Linked DNA regions of Homo sapiens: all the other regions are linked to region 2. The links are contacts of gene promoters, found by promoter capture Hi-C in human tissues and cell types (Jung and others, 2019). All regions are on one chromosome and are shown on one strand. Each heading gives the region's core, a stretch centred on a gene start or on the middle of the fragment in contact. The rest is flanking DNA. Distances are from core to core; before and after follow the strand shown. Region 1 overlaps INPP5A (inositol polyphosphate-5-phosphatase A). Region 2 holds the start of NKX6-2 (NK6 homeobox 2). Region 3 overlaps INPP5A (inositol polyphosphate-5-phosphatase A).

The links. Contacts are between HindIII fragments. The study calls those that stand out against the background at their distance.
Region 1: a contact is called between a fragment that was not itself captured here and the fragment with the promoter of NKX6-2 in region 2, in 2 of the 25 tissues and cell types used here (H1 embryonic stem cells and mesendoderm cells).
Region 3: a contact is called between a fragment that was not itself captured here and the fragment with the promoter of NKX6-2 in region 2, in 2 of the 25 tissues and cell types used here (H1 embryonic stem cells and hippocampus).

The regions. Positions count from the first base shown.
Region 1 is chr10:132,670,906-132,673,605 of GRCh38, forward strand. The region is part of intron 4 of INPP5A (inositol polyphosphate-5-phosphatase A); the gene reads left to right. Among named protein-coding and RNA genes, the nearest start is that of NKX6-2, 110 kb to the right of the region's middle. The HindIII fragment of the contact is 5,981 bases long and covers 1-2,700 here.
Region 2 is chr10:132,784,838-132,787,537 of GRCh38, forward strand. NKX6-2 (NK6 homeobox 2) reads right to left here and starts at 1,310. Exons shown (of 3, transcript NM_177400.3): 1 at 706-1,310; 2 at 443-615; 3 at 1-333. The coding sequence starts at 1,111. The coding sequence ends at 79. The HindIII fragment of the contact is 14,696 bases long and covers 1-2,700 here.
Region 3 is chr10:132,693,216-132,695,915 of GRCh38, forward strand. The region is part of intron 5 of INPP5A (inositol polyphosphate-5-phosphatase A); the gene reads left to right. Among named protein-coding and RNA genes, the nearest start is that of NKX6-2, 92 kb to the right of the region's middle. The HindIII fragment of the contact is 5,717 bases long and covers 1-2,700 here.

The sequences.
Region 1 (2,700 bases), core at 32-2,531, 110 kb before region 2:
CCAAAGTGGAGAAACTGCAAACGGCGGTGACGGCTTGACGGGCGTCACTTTTCCTTGGTCTTTGTCAGTCAGGTCTAATTTATAACAGGGCCATTAGTGGGAGATAGCTTTCTTTGGATGTCTTTTCCCGTAAGGGTTGCTCATGGTTTGGCCTCAGTAAAGAAAAGAGAAGGTCTCTCTTTCATATTGTTGGAAGCAGCAGGTGGCCCACTCCTTCTGGAGTGAGGCATGGGCATGTGGGCACGCCTCCATCTGTCAGGAGTGTCCCTGTCTCTCCCTTCTGATTGGGACAGTGGGTCACACTGGTGGCCAGTGGGCAACTGGGGCCCCTGGAGCCGTGGCCTCCCCTGGGCCCAAGGGAGGCACAGATGACTTAGGAGTGGAGAGTTCAAACGTGGGCTGCGGCGAGGCTTGTGCCCTCCCTGCTTCGGACTCCGCCCTCCCTGCTTCGGACTCCGCCCTCCCTGCTTCGGACTCCGCCCTCCCTGCTCTGGACTCCGCCCTCCCTGCTTCGGACTCCGCCCTCCCTGCTTCGGACTCGGCCCTCCCTGCTCTGGACTCCGCCCTCCCTGCTTCTGACTCCACCCTTTCTGCTTCGGTATCTACCTCCTTGCTTTGGAAGGACACAACCTTCTTGGCTGGCACAGCCCTTCCTGCCATGCCTGTTGATCCCATCATCAGCCAAGGATGTGTTGGGGCCGTATTCTGCGGCTCCTCCAGCATGGGAAGGTGCTGACAGGAAGCAGCACCAACACCTCCTGGAATAGCCGTTGGCACATGAGCTTCCTGATACTGTTTCATGTGCCTTACATGTGCCACCCATGCAGGGATCAGAGCAGCCCTATGAAGTGGGTACTGTTATTTGTCTTCCCCGTGTCACAGATAGAGATGTTGAGGCACAGAGAGGTTCAGGGACCAACCAGAAGAGGCCAATGTGGGATTTGAACTTGGTTCTGGCCTCAGAGCCTGTACTCTCAACCAGCCTGCTCTGCTCTCAGAAGGGGACAGCGCAGGAAAGGCCAGCTTCAGCCAGGGTGACGGTGGGGGTGGTGCTCAGGGTGGACAGCATTGATTAGAGGTGACTGTTGTCCAATATTCAGCTAAACTGTAGGTTTTAAAGCTTGAGGACAGGTTTCGTTAGAGGTCAAAATTCAGTAGTTCCTTTCCCAAGGATGTAGGGAGAGAACTACGTTTTGTTAAGTGGCTCTTATTGAGCATTGTGACATTCTTTTGCTAAAAACATGTTTGTGCATGTATACACTTGTACTAAGAAAATATCTTCATTTTATTTCCTTTTCCTTTATCATGTGACATAAGATTTATTCACTTCATATCAGCATTTAAGTATTGTCAACTTTATGAAATAATATTTGGGTTGGCGATTGGTTTTGAAATGTGAGGACAGGAGATCTGGGAGGGGTCGGGATGGAATAATATGGTTTGGCTGCGTCCCCACCCAAATCTCATCTTGAATTCCCACATGTTATGGGAGGGACCCTGCGGGAGGCAAGGGGATCATGGGGGCAGGTCTTTCCCATGGTGTTCTCATGGTGGTGGGTGGGTCTCATGAGATCTGATGGTTTTACAAAGAGGAGTTTCCCTGCACAAGCTCTTTCTTTGCCTGCTTCCATCCATATAAGATGTGACTTGCTCCTCCTTGCCTTCTGCCATGATTGTGAGGCCTTACCAGCCATGTGGAACTGTAAGTCCATATTAAACCTCTTTCTTTTGTAAATTCCTCAGTCTCGGGTATGTATTTATCAGCAGTGTGAAAACAAACTAATACAAGGTCTTTCCTAAGTTTGGAAAAACGTGATTTCTCATCTCTTCAAAAACGACTTCCACTCCCCCTCTGCATTCCCTCTAGGTTCCAGTTACATGTGCGTTGGACCCCACGCCTTCCACGCCCCACCCCACTCCCCTGGTATTGATGACTGCCTTCTTCTACTGTCCATTCTGTATTCCCTTTGCCTTCAGCATCACCTCAGCGGGTCGTGGTTTTTTTCCTGGTGGAATGTCCCAAACCTTCATTCCTGAGGGGTCTGGGTCACTTGTAGTCTTGCCTGGATTGGGCTGTTGTAGTTTCCCGTTGACCTTAATCACAAGGCATGGTAATACTATGGGACGCCCTAATGGATCTCCTGTATTCCATGTATACTCTTCCTTAGCTTCGTTGCAGAGTAGTAGACTGATTTCACCTTGATAGACCAGATCAATCACCCCAACAGTGTAACTCCTTTCTTAGCCTATTGACATAAAGGTAGGAGGAGCCCAGAGTATCCAGGTGACAATCTTAACTTCCAGTTCAGTGGGATTGCTGTTTGGTCTCGCGGTGGCAGCATTCTTCCCTCTGGAACTAATAACGCTAGGCCAGCAGAACGTAATGTTGCAGGAACAGGAAGCAAAACTTTTGCTAGTGGATCATTAGGGGTGATGGTGAGTGGTGCCACTTCCACTTCCACCCTTGATTCCCGGACCCGTGAATCCTGGCTATGGGAGAAACAGTATCATATATTGGACGCTGATTCAGAGCATCCATGGCCCTCTGGAGAACTTTGTCCCAGCCCTGCAAAGTATTGCCACCTAGTTGGTGTTGTAATTGTGACTTCAAAAGGCCATTCCACCATTCTGTCAACCCAGCTGCTTCAGGATGATGGGGAACATGGTAAGACCAGTGAATTCCATGAGCATGAGCCCCCT
Region 2 (2,700 bases), core at 60-2,559:
TGATACAAAGCGACTCGCGCCCACCCGGGGCCGCCCCCGGATTCTGCAAAAATAGATTCGCCCCCACCCCGCGGGTCCTCACAAGGCGTCCCCCGCGCCGCCGCCGCACGGGCTGACCAGCGCCAAGTTCGAGGGTTTGTGCTTCTTGAGCAGCCGCGTGATCTTCTCGTCGTCCGAGTTGGGGTCCAGGGGCCGGTTGTATTCGTCGTCGTCCTCCGCGTCCGAGCCGCCCACCTTCAGCTTCTCGGCGTCCGAGTCCTGCTTCTTCTTGGCCGACGCCATCTCCACCGCGTGCCGCTTGCGCCACTTGGTCCGGCGGTTCTGGAACCAGACCTGGGAGTGGACGGGGCGGTCAGGCGGCCGCGGGGCCCGGGGCTGGCGCTGGGGCCGTTCGCAGGACGCGGGCCCCCGGCTCTGCTCTCCCGAGCCCCGCCGCGCTCACCTTCACCTGGCTCTCGGTCATGCCCAGCGAGTAGGCGAGACGCGCGCGCTCCGGGCCCGCCAGGTACTTGGTCTGCTCGAAGGTTTTCTCCAGCGCGAAGATCTGCTGGCCCGAGAAGGTCGGGCGCGAGTGCTTCTTCTTCCCGTCCTTGTCCAGGACGCCGCCGGCCGGGGCTGCAAGGGAGGGGAAGGGAGGGAGGTCAGCGGCCGGCGGGGTCCCCCTCCGCGCCCACCCGCCCCGCACCCCCCGCGCGGGCCACTCACCCGGGCCAGCCAGACGCGGGTCCCTCCAGGGCGCGCCCTGCACCACGCCGGGCCAGAAGATGGGCGGGCGCCCCGGCAGCTCGGCCAGGGGCTTGGGGTAGCCGCGCGCCACAGCGGCCGCGGGCCCGAAGTAAACGCCGGCGGACGACGCGAGCCCGTTGAGCCGGGGCAGCCCCCCCAGGAGGCCCCCGCCCGCCGCGCCCACGGGCCGGCCCAGGATGTCGCTGATGCCGTGCGGGGTCCCGAGCGGGAGCTGCGCGCCCAGGCCCCCCAGCGCGGGCGCCTTGAAGCCGGCCGGACCCTGCAGCGCGTAGGGGAACAGCGACGTCTTCATCTCGGCCATGTTGTGCAGCGCGGCCAGCGGGGCACTGCTCAGCACGAACGCGCCCGGGCGGTTAGTGTCCATGGGCGCCGCCGCCGCCGGCCCGGGCTCCCATCCGGGCCCCGCCGCCGCCGCCCCTGCCCGCCGGCCCGGGAAGTTTGCGCGCGGCCCGGGCGGGCGTCGGCTGCAGCGCGGGGCGCGGGGCGCGGGGGGCGGGCGGGCGGCTCCGGCGCGGGGCGGGCGGGCGGGCGGCGGCGGCGGCGGCTCCGGGGCCGGTCGGAGCGGCGCCGCGCGGGACGGACGCGCTGATAACGGGGGCTCCCCGGGGCGCGGCGCGCGCGCTGATTGGCTGCGGACCCCGCGGTCCGGCCATTGGCCGGCGCCCCCCCCCCGCCCGCGCGCCCCCGCCGGCCGCGCACTCCATGAAGGGCCCATTAGCGCGGCAGGTGCCTCCCGGGCTGTAAATTCGCCCCGATTTATCTCCCCGGGGACGAAATAAATCCAGCTTGGATGGGAGTGTAGTTAGGCAAAGGTTTTCATGCGAAATCAGGAAAAAATACGAGAACGTATTTTATTAACGGAAAGAATGCAGATTTGAGGACCCGCCCGCGCGCTCGGAGCGCCCCACTCGGGGAAGAGTCCCGGCCCGCGTCCCAGTCGCGACTGCTCCGCCGCCCGTGGCTGGGGTGGGTGTGAGCGGCAGCGGACGCCGGCGGGGAACGCGCTCCGGGCAGGTCGGGGCCACAGGAGGGCGGAGGACGCGGGCCTCGAGTCCACGGAATCCACGGGCCTCACGGCCGGGCGAGGCTCGCACGGAGCTGCCTCTGGTTTCGCCGACACGCGGCCGGCGCGGTGGAGGAGTGAGGCAGGCGGGAGCGGGGCGGGGAGGCGGGTCCCGGGACCACACGCGCGGCTCGGCACTTCCCCGTCATCGGCCTCCAGGTCTCCCGCTGGGGGTCCCCCAGGATGTGACCTGGGCCCACGACTTCGCCCACGGGCCGCCTCTCGCGAATCCCCGGCCGGGAGAACAGAGACCAGGACGGCCTCAGCGCGGAAGCCCTGTCCAGGGCCCGAACGTGGGTGCGGGCTGGGGGCGCAGCGGCAGAAACGCGGCCTTAGACGCGCGCGGGGGGCCGGTGTCCCCCCCGCCCCCACGGCACCGGGAGCCGCTCGCTCATCCATCCCGCAGACCGGGCGGTGAGATGACTCCGAGCCCCGCGCACGGCGGCCGCGAGCAAACGCTCCGACGTCTGTGGTGACGTCTCGTATTGATTTAGGGACACGGGGCGGCTGTGGCTGTGGCCCACGGCTCGTGGGGAGCCCGAGTCTGTGCGCAGGGAACGCCGCTGCGTGGCCTCTCTCGGGCCTGTGCCGCGGAGGAAGGCGGCGCCCGGGGTTCGGGGCCGGGGTCTCACGTCCGCCCCCTCGCCCCCCTCCAGCGTCCGTTTTCGTTTTGTGCAGGTCGAGGCGGGGACTTGGCGCCGTCGGCCGCTCCTGGATGGCGGCTTGGAAAAGCCACCTGCGGCCAAACTCCGGGGCAGTGGTGCGGCCGCCGGGTGTGTGCGCGCTCGGGGCTGCCCCGGCGGCTTCCGGCTCCACTGAGGTGCAGCCCCGCGTTCACGGGGGGTTCGCTTCCCCCGTCGACTCCGCACTCGATTCGACTGGGATTGGGA
Region 3 (2,700 bases), core at 169-2,668, 92 kb before region 2:
GTAAAAGCCAGAGAAGGCAGATAAAGAATGGGAGACCCCAAAGATACAAAGAACAAAGGCAACAAATAGAAAACTTACAAATATGGTAAATATTACTCCAACTATATCAACGATCCCTTTAAATGTGAATGGTCTAAATATACCAATTAAAGGACAGAGACTGTCAGAGTGGATTAAAAAAAATACCCAACTATATGTTGTCTTCTAGAAACCCATTTATATAAACACCTAAAGATTAATAGATAAGGGATGGAGGAAGGTATAGTGTTCTAACATGAATCAAAGGAAAACTTAAATGGGCCAAAAGAAAGCTGGAGGAGCTATATTAATTTATAGCATCAAATACATATATTAGAAAAGCAGAAAGATCTGAAATCAATTATCTAAGCTTGTACCTTAGGAAACTAGAAGAAAAGTAAATTAAACCAAAAGCTGGTTGTTTGAAAAAAACAATAAAATGGATAAACCTCTAGCCAGACTAAGAAAAAAAATGACACAAATTATTCATGTCAGAAATTATCAGAATAGGCAGAGCAGACTTCAGAGCTAGGAAAGTTTTCAGCAGTAAAGAGGGACATTACATCATGATGAAAAGATCAGATCTCCAAGAATACATAACAATCCTTAGTATCTAGCTGCCTAACAACAGAGTGTCAAATACACAAGGCAAACCAAGTAGAGCTGCCAAGAGAAACAGATGAACCCACTATCATAGTTAGAGACTTCAACACCCTGTATCAGGAATGAACAGATCTGGCAAGCATAAAATCAGGAAAGACATAGTTTAACTCAACAGCACCATCAAACAAATTGATCTAATTGACACTTATAGGATACCTCATCCAGTAACAGCAGAATCTACGTTTTTGTCAAGCTCGCCTGGAACATTCACTGAGACATCACATTCTGGGCCATAAAACACACCTTTACAAATTTAAAAGAACAGAAACCATATACAGCATGCTCATAGATTACAATGGAATTAAACCAGAAATCAGCACCAGAAAAGTAGCTGGAAAATCCCCAAATACTTGAACATTAAACAACACATATCTAAATAACATATGAGTCAAAGAAGTCTCAAGAGAAATTTAAAAATATTTTGAACCAAATGAAAACGTAAATACAGCTTAACATTCATGGGATATTAGCAAAAGTAATGTTTAGAGGTAAATTTATAGCATCAAATGCATATAAGAAAGAGCTAAAAAGAAAAAAGTGCTAAGAAGAAAGGAAGAAAGAGCTAAAATCAATTATCTAAGCTTCTACCTTAGGAAGCTAGGAGAAGAAAAGAAAATTCCAAAGTAAGCAGAAGAAAAGAAATAATGAAAATTGGAACAGAAAGCAACAGAATTGAAAACAGGAAATGAATAGAGAAAATTAGCAAAACCAAAAGCTGATTCTTTAAAGCGATCAATAAAATCGATAAACCTCTAGCCAGACTAAGAAAAAGAGAGAGAAGACACAGATTATTAATATCAGAAATTAGAGAGGGGCCATTACTGCCGATCCTGTGGACATTTAAAGGATAATAAAAGAATATCATTAATTTCTGCCTATAAATGTAATAACTTAGATGGGCCAATTCCTTGAAAGACACAATCTATGAAAACTCATAAAAGGAAAACTAGAGAATCTGAACAGGTCTATAGCTATTAACAACACTGAATAAGTAATTAATAACCTGCTGAAAAAGAAAGCATCAGACCAAATGGTTTCACTGGTGAATTCTATCAAGCATTTAAGGAAGACGTTATACCAGTTCTCTACAATCTTTTCCAGAAAATATAAGCAGAGGACAAACGTCCTAAATCATTCTATGAGGCCAGCATTACCCTAATACTAAAACCAGATAAAGACATTACAAAGAAGGAAAACTATGAACTGTAAACAAAAATGCTCAACAAAATTCTCAAGAGTCAGTTATATACTATGACCAACCGAGATTTACTCCTGGTATAGAGGCTGGTTCAGCATTTAAAAATCAATTAATGTAATCCATCACAGCAGCAGGCAAAAGAAGGAAAATCACATGATCATAGGATAGATGCAGAAAAAGCATTTCCCAAAATCCACATCTCTTCATTGTTTGAAAAAAAACTCCCAGCAAACTAGGAATAGAGGGGAAGTTCCTCAACCTGATAAAGAAGAGCTCCAAAAATCCTACAATGAATACCACACTTAATGAGAAATTAGATGCTTTTCCTATGAGATCAGGAACAAGGCAAGGATGCCTCCTCTCCTACTTCTCTTCAACATCTTACTGAAAATCTTAGATAATGTAATAAGACAAGAAAAGGAAATAAAAGCCATGTTGATGGGGTGATGGGAGATAGAACTATTTCTGTTCTCAGATGATATGATTATGTCAAGAATCTCAAAGAGTCAGCAACAATAACAGACAAACCTGGTACCAGTAAGCAATTATAGCAACATTGCAGGATGCCTAGTTAAGATACAGAAATCAATTGCTTTCCTGTGTAGCAGCAATGAACAGGTGGAATTTTAAATTAAAAACATAATACCATTTGCTTAAGCACACACCAAAAGGAAGTACTTAGGAATAAATCTAACAAATTAATACAAGATCTCTGTGAGGAAAACTATAAAACTCTGATGAAATAAGGAAGATCTAGATAAATGGAGAGAGATTTCATCTTCATGGATAGTTCTATGGTTGGAAAGTAGGTGCCCCCCACC